2 separate regions of the Homo sapiens genome follow, and region 1 is linked to region 2. Evidence: promoter capture Hi-C in 16 types of primary human blood cells and fetal thymus (Javierre and others, 2016). All regions are on one chromosome and are shown on one strand. The core of a region is centred on a gene start or on the middle of the fragment in contact, and the rest is flanking DNA. Distances in the headings are between cores, read along the strand shown.

The links. Contacts are between HindIII fragments. The CHiCAGO score rates a contact against its expected background, and 5 or more counts as called.
Region 1: a fragment that was not itself captured here is called in contact with the fragment with the promoter of BACH2 in region 2 in 6 of 17 cell types (total B cells, naive B cells, activated CD4 T cells and 3 more); the score reaches 13.5 in total B cells.

Annotation. Positions count from the first base shown.
Region 1 is chr6:90,344,695-90,348,593 of GRCh38, reverse strand. LOC105377891 (a long non-coding RNA gene) reads right to left here. Exons shown (of 7, transcript XR_942778.4): 3 at 3,203-3,373; 4 at 2,473-2,618; 5 at 1,804-1,937. Among named protein-coding and RNA genes, the nearest start is that of MIR4464, 34 kb to the right of the region's middle. The HindIII fragment of the contact is 4,845 bases long and covers 1-3,877 here.
Region 2 is chr6:90,294,225-90,298,239 of GRCh38, reverse strand. It overlaps BACH2 (BACH transcriptional regulator 2), which reads left to right and starts at 1,397. Exons shown (of 9, transcript NM_021813.4): 1 at 1,397-1,760. LOC105377891 (a long non-coding RNA gene) reads right to left here and starts at 1,001. Exons shown (of 7, transcript XR_942778.4): 1 at 504-1,001. LOC124901361 (a long non-coding RNA gene) reads left to right here and starts at 3,034. Exons shown (of 2, transcript XR_007059676.1): 1 at 3,034-4,015. RefSeq lists silencers at 1,484-1,533, 2,159-2,218 and an enhancer at 3,002-3,091. The HindIII fragment of the contact is 2,083 bases long and covers 534-2,616 here.

The DNA.
Region 1 (3,899 bases), core at 206-2,705, 50 kb before region 2:
TCTGGTCAAAAGAAGAACTCTATGGAGACTATGTGTACATGGGAGCTCAGAGTTCTTAATATCTGGGTGCTAATTTTTATGTGGTGGTATTTTCACTCACAGGCTGCAGCAGCCAGAGACATTTGGGTTGCAGGTAGCTAAAGACCACAGCTTCTGGCAGTTGCTTCCCTGGACACAGTCAACCGGCAACCGAGACTTTAAATAACAGAGATTTCCTTTTCTTTCCAAAGCCTTTTGACCTTATCTCCTCATATTCGAGCCTATTGCCCATGATACTGGTCACATTGTAATGGTCTCCCCATAATCTCTGGCCTCCTCCACTGCAGAGGGTGATCCTAGAGCATGGCCCTGACCATGCCATGCCCTTAGCAAGCACCATTCACACAATGTTCAGAATAAAATCCAAACTATTTAGTTTGGTATTCAAAGTCCTACACAATTTCATTTCTACCTATTTTCCCTAACATACCTTTCTGTACTTTCCAACACACAGCTTATGCTTAAAATAGTTTGGTCTATTCACTGTGCCCTGGGCATGTGTCATGTATTCCTATTCTCCTCTCCTCCCCTCTTTCTCTCCAAATCCTTCCCACCCCTCAAGACCCATGTCCATCCCCACCTCTCTTGGGCAATACTTCTTGCGCTTAGCCACTATGATCTCTCCTCCTCTAAATGTTTAAAACCCATAATGCCCATGCCAGTCATCTGATGCTCAGTAGGCACTGCCTGATAGGTTTTCCTTTTCTTGGGCGTGTGCCTTATTGCATCAACCAGATGATAAACCCATTTAGAGCAGATGCCACACTCTACACAATGACTCCCTGCTATGATTACCCAACTTCTATATACTAGACTAGCTCATGGAACATGATTCAGAACAGGATGGAAACATGGGTCAGCAAGGATATAATAAACAGGTCTCCTTGCCTGCCCTACTCATGGCCCCTTCTGGAGAATCTAGTCTGCCAGGTTACCTAGAAAGAGCATCACTCCCTACCCCATAACCACCCTCCCCATCTCCTCCAACCATGGCTGAGTGTACCAGGGTTAGACATCTAACCCCAAAGCAGCTGCTCCAATGTGAAGCAACACGTGATCTGGACTGATCAGTCTTCTCCTTATAACAATTTGCCCAGGAGACACAGAGACTGTCATCAATTGCCAATGACTACTGGAGCTTGGAAATCATGAGACTAAGGTGGACTGGGAGCTGCGTGGGAGGAAGTGAGCAAGATGAGTATGCAGAGGAAGCAGGTTTAGGAGAAAGGATGAAGATTTTCAGAGACAGAGATCTCTGTAGCTCCTGAAGATAAAGAGAATGGCTTAGCTCCTGGTGGCTTTCTGGTTCTCAGGTCCAATCTTTCACAGGGACTGATTGCATATCCTGTCCATGAGATTTCTCTTTAACATTTCAGGAAATTGGAGCTAGCTTGAATAGCTTTCTGCTCCTTCTCATCCCCCACCCCGCCGCCCTTTTTTTTCCATCAAAGGAACCGTGACTAGAAAGAGGCACCACAGGCTGATAATAATTCTCACCCTCCATTCTTTATACTCTTCCCAGGGTCCTGCCCCTTCTCTTCTCCTAGGGCTGTCACAGCAAAACGTGACTACTAAATTCCTAATGTGGAGAATCAAGAATCAATTGCTCGAATGCTGTCAAAAATGACATTCAAGTTTGAGTGACAATGATGTCTCTGGTCCTGTCCCTATCCACTTCTCTATTTTTAGTTCTGTTCCTACTATCTGAAATTACAATGCCTGGTGCTTAAGCAATTGCCAGGAGTTATTTAACAAGTACCTTACCCTTCTTTGAAGACGATGCTTTGATCCTGAGCTTACATCCTTTTCTCAGTGACAGAGATTTTGGAATGTGCCATTTCACAAAACACCAAGTCTCTTCTGGTGTTTTCTTTGAATGAGGGGCTTGAGTCCATTGGCTGGTAACAGAAATTGGAGCTTGTCAGAAGAAATTTCCTATAACCCACTTCAGCAAGTTACTCCCCATATATTAAATAGGGCTAACATGGCCAGGCTTTCTCAAGGATGCGGTGAAATAAATCAATATAATGGGTTGAAAGTGCTTTGTAAACTAATTCCATATAGTACTATTATTCTTATTGTCAATGCCCATCTATCTTCAGAAGTATTATTCCAGGTGTAAAGGTCATACACAGACCTTTGAATAGCTCAGAGCAGAGCTATTCAATGTTCAGAGCTGTGTGAGGATGCAGAGGCTACATTAGACCTTCAAGTAAATGATGGCTATTTGATGTGCACTCAAGCATGTATATGTATATACTTCACGTTTGAATTTTTTACATTAAAGACGAATTATATCTTCCATCAGAAAAAAAGAATGTCAAATTTTTAAAGCCTATGTGTACAATTTAGGAATCAATTAAGACTAGGGAACTTGAGGAAGGAAGGGACTGGGGAAAGAGTTTAAGTAAGTAAAAAATATATTACCCTTACCCCAAGAATTTATGAAAGTTCATATGAATCTTACTCCAAAGTGTATCTCCATCCTTCAGCATTCAGAACATATTGTCAGGAGTTACAGGTCAGGTCCTCCAGAAACAGATTGGAAGTGTATTTGGGAGGGTCCCTGGGAACCACACCTATGGGAGAGTAGAGGAAACAGGATTGGACAGAAGGAGAAGCTGGACTACATTCAGGCATCACAAAAGCCTCAACTGACCCCCACGGGATGCTCTGAAGCTGAGATGACCCTGCAGAGTTGTTCCAATCCAAATTAAGAGGCAGGGTCTTTATGTTCTCATATGTCAGTCATCGAGTGCAGGCTACCCCCAGAAAGGGGCCCAATGCCTCTCTTCAGCCAAGGGCAATTACCAGGAGGGATTACTCCACTACAAGCTGTCAGCCATCACTCCCAGCAGCTGAGGGAATGAGCACCTCCATCCTGAAGCAGGGGCTATGAGGAGCTGGGGCACATTCAGCATTGACCACACCAGGTCAGAGCTACCATTGTGGGGTTTTGTGTATCAGTGAAATAAGAAACTCCATGAAGAAAATGTGCTCTTCACAATAATATTCTTGTCATTCCACTGGCACACTGTCAGGGACAGGAGCATACCCCAAACTAACTGGTATTTGAGATTCAGTAGAATCTGTGACCAGAGCAAGAAACCCCCACACAATACCCTGCACCTATACTCCAAGCCCAACAAGAAACACATCATACCATTGGCTCCTTAAACCAAGAACTTGCATCCTTTGTCAGTTTCTTAATTCCAAGAGTGAGGGCTCAGCTTTAAACCAGCTGAAAGGATTATTCTTGTTTCTCAAGTTTGCCATCTCCTTGGGCACATACAACTGGGGGTCGACAATATTATTATTTCAAAAAGGCTCATGGCTATTGAACAGAAAATTAAAGAAGTAGTATCAGAAACAATGTGAGGAATTAAAAGATCAAAAATAACATCTAGAATAATTGCAGTCCCCCCATTAAATGATAAGATATGCTAAAATTTATCTATACACAGCTTTGCAGGATTAAAATCCTTCTAGGTTTTCTTTAAAGTTTTATAAATACTCATTGCTTGTAAGACTTGTATAAAACTTACTGAAATATGTTACAAAAAATCTTACCTTAATTTTAATCAAAACTGTATTTTTCTTGTAAGATTTAAGGAAGGAATCTTTTTTCACTCAGTGAAATCTTAGAGTGGCATTTCTAGTTGTCTCTTTGTCCCTTCTTGCTAATTATCTTAGCTCAGAAATTTATCAGTGCAAGAACGTGTATTAGCTTCCTGGTTAATTCAAAGTTCACAGGTGTATGCTGTGATTTTTATCACACCTATCTATAATGCGCAATGTGTCCAGCTTCTTATATCCCAAGAGGATCACCATTTAAGCTTTTCCTGAATGCTCAATTCTTC
Region 2 (4,015 bases), core at 148-2,647:
GCCGGGTCGGTTAGCAGAGAAAATCTCACAGTCCCGTGCCAGACCTCCACGCAGGGACTCTGCAGTGCTGTTAGAAAAATTAGCTCAGCACCTTCAGCTTGCTTTCAGCCATCACTTAGCTTTCCACACAGACATTCCAAATGGGGCCTTTCAAAACTCTGCCCTCAAATGAAGGTAGTTCAGAGCAACACTTTAGATGATATCACAAGACTCCCAGGACGCTTCACTGCTTCCTCAGCATACGCCAGTGCCCGTTTTACAGGGGGGATTTATGATCCTTCTCTCAGTAGAGCGAGCCAAACTTTTATAATATTCATTAAAAATCAGCACCACGTGTAATAATATGGAATACTGCCTGTACACAAGAGGGCCAAGTTATAGGTGTTTAGGGAAACGTGGCAGAATTTTCTGGCCTTGGCAAGAGGTAAAGTTGCAGGCACCAGCACAACACTAACACAACCTTATTTTATTGCAAATGTACATTCAGCCTAAATCCTAATTACCTTCTGTAAAATCCTAACCACCACCAAGCTTTCTTCTGACAGGGCACTCACACGACGGCCTTTAAGGGCAGCAACAACATCCTAAGAGCCGCAGAAAGGAAAGGCAGGGGAGAGTGGCTGGAAGGCAGTAGGAGCTGGGGCTGAAGCCCGGGAGGTTGGCTTTTAATGTCCTCCTGAAATTGACCACTCTCTTTCCAAAAACACTGGCTTGGGGGCTTAAAGGTTCGCTCAGTAGGGCAGGCGGAGGGCCTCCTGAAAAGGATTGAGAAGTCAACATTCAAAAGGCTGCTTTTACTCGCCCGGTCCCCACCCAAAAGGGAGTCCGGTCAGCTTTGTGGGGGCCAGTGGAGCATCTTTTCTTGCCCTTCCGGGAAAACGCTAGCTAACCCTGGGATCCCCGGTCCCGACGTCTGCTCTCCTTCCCCAGGTGCAGCACCTAGGGCTCTGGCCCCCTCCCCACGTGCCACACCAGCCCTCACCACTACTCTCACCCTGCTATGCCCCCAACCCTCGTCTTTCGTGGCCGGGAAGGCCAGGCCGAGCGGGGCGGTCAGCCGGGCCGGGAGGAGGGGGCTCTCCGGGCCGCGCGGCCGCACAAAGCGGGGAGATCTGCTGCTGCGGCGGCATGAGGCGCGCCCCCTCCCGCGAGCCAGCGGAGCGCGCGCGCCCGCCCCCGTCCCCCGCCCCCCGCCCCAGCCCCCGGAGCGCCATTCGCGGAGCGGCTTACGCTAGTCGCCGGGCGTACCGCGCCCCAGCGGCCGGGGAGGTGCGCTGCCCGGCTCCCGTAAAGTTATTGTGAATGGGGAGCGGGTGACGTCAGCGCCGAATGTCAACAATGTAGCGATTGAGAGTGTGGGCGTTCCGGGGAGAGCGCAAGCCGCGCGGCGCGGAGCAAACAGCGCCGAGCCGCCGCCGCCTCAGCAGCAGCAGCAGCAGCAGCAGCGGCAGCAGCGGCCGTGCACGCCCGGGCTGCGGTCGCACAGCGCTAACGTGAGCGGCCGCCGCCCTCGCCACCCCGCCTGCCCACTCCCGCCGCCGCCCCGCTCTCGCTTTCCCCCCGGCCTCCCCTCGCCCCTTCCCCTCCCCCTTCCCGGCGCACTCGGGGGGCTGGGAACGAGCTGCCATGTGATGCGCGTCCCCTCCGCGAGCTTTCGGTGACCCACGAACTGCCCACCTCGCCGGCTGCCGGGAGGGGGCTGCGAGCCGGGAAGACGCGGGGAAGAGGAGGCGGAAAAGGACGCAAAGTTCTCCGGCGAGGTGAGTCCCGGGCCCCGGGCCCCGGGCCCCGCCGCTGGGCGGGGTGGCGGGGCAAGTTTGCGGGGGGAGCGGGCGCGCGGGGCGGGCGGGGAGGCGTGGGGAAACGGCGCGGGAAGGGAGCCCCGGCCGCCGGGCGCGCAGCCGCCCTCCCCGCGCCCTGCCCGCTTTTATGGCATTTTCTAGGAACGGGAAGGGGGTGGGAGCCGAGCCGGCGGCCGCGCCGCGCCGAATGTGTGCTCTCCCTCCCGGCTGTTTACGGCGGCCGAGGCGCATTGTATTTTGCTGGCGTCGAAGGGTGTTTTGGAACAGCAGAGGGAGGAGGAGCAGAGAGTAATAAGTCAGGCATGGGGAGGGCGGGCTGCAGGAGGCGCGCGTCCGCGCGAGCCGCAGCAGCTGTCAGACCCGCGGCCCTGCCCCCGGCCCGGCGAGGCCCGGGTGTCCCGGCCCCCAGCCTGCGATCCCAGCTCCAGGCCGGGCGGCCTCCTCCTTAACCCTCGGCGTGCGCATCCCGGGCTGCTCCGCGAGGACCTTGGCCGCGGCGCCTTTGCGCTCAGCTGTCAGCCGCCGCCGGGTGGCCCGGACCACCGCGACCGGCGGGGAATCAAAGCCCAAGTTTAGGGTCGCAGGAAGAGGCGAGCTGGGGGCCTCGCGGCGCAGACCTGGATCGAATCTCTCCTAGCGAAAGATCGGGTTGTCGGAAAGCGTCCCGCGTAGCTAAGACCTAAGGGCGCCAGGCTTCTGAGAGGGAAACCTTGCACCTCCTCTCCCACAGATCCTCCATGAAGTCAAGGTGCAACACACACACACACACACACACACACACACCCTACACTCCAGTCTCCAAGCCCCAGAAGCTTCACCCAGGAGACTGGTTTATGAAGGGGACACTGCCCTCCCCGTCCCCGCGTCGAGGCGCTCCGTGGCCCCGCTGTGCTTCGCTCACCCGGCGGGTGTTCGGGAGCCCGGCGCCGCTGGAGACGGCGGCGGGCGGCGCTCACGGGCTACCCTAGGTGCCCACGAGGGGAGAGACTGGAGCGAGCATCTCGGCGACCTCGGTCTGGCCAAGCATTTGCAGGAACTCGGACCGTGAGGGGAAGCGTGCAGGGCCGGGAGTGAGTGTGTGAAGGGGTGGCACACTCCTGGCTTCTGGGGTCGCGGGCGCATGGGGCATCCCCAGCACTCTCCCGCGCGTAGGCGAGTTTGGTAACTTGAGGGAAGTTCCGGCGCGGCCGCTGCCGGGGTGGTTTGTCTGTGGCCCGATGAGGCGCGCCTCGCAGCCTGCTCTCCCGGTCACCGCCGTCGCCGTGACCTGTGGCCTCCAGGAAACGAGAGGGACCGGGGCGCCCCACCCGCGAGACGGACCCGCAGTCTCCCGGCGGGCCCGCGGGCGGCGAGACGCGGCGTTCCTGGTTTTCACCTTCGCTGTCTAGTGCTGCAGTCTCTCACTCTCTGTAAATTTCATCTGTTGAGTGTATTTAACTAAAAAGGGTAATTACTTTAGATAAAAATCCTTTCCTGCCTAGTGGGAACCTTGGCGGAGATGATGCCTAATGAGATATTTTGCTTTTGTCTGTTTAGAGTAAAATTAGAGATGTTAACGCTGATAACGGTTTTCTCAGATCATTAAAATGTAACATGTAGGAAAGGCACGTCTTGCTGCAAAGGCTCGGGCTGACATGAAAGAAGCTGAGCGTGAAAGGCTGCCCCTCCTTTGGCGGAGAGGGCTATTTTGGTAAGGCAGCGGGCGTCTTGCTTAAAATGTGAGATCGCCCCACCCTGGTTCTCGGGCACCTCCCGAGTAAACGGCGTTTTTCATTCTTGCAGGTAATAATAAACGTGAGTCAAAATGACATCTTGTTAGAATTAGTCTTTAGTCTGTAAGAGAGATTGCCAAATTACAGTGTTGCGTTCAAACTGCTCCACTGAAAGGTCTGTCAGCATTTCCATTATAAATTCAGTTTTTCTGGAGTTTATAATTTCACCACAAAACTTTGAGTGGCTGAAATGTTTTCCCTTCTAGTATTCTGGTTTTTGAAAGAAATTTATTGATTGCCCATTTCCAACGTTTTTTTTACTCTCGAAACCTGAATATCATTGAAATAGAGCGAAGTCCCAGAAATGGAACACACAACCATGGAATAAAGTATTTTTGTTAGAACATAACTTTATTGGTGCAGAGCCGTATTTTCGTTTTGCATTGCAGGAGGCTTCAGGTTTGCCATTTGGTAATCATGAATGTGTTGAGTAAATTCTTC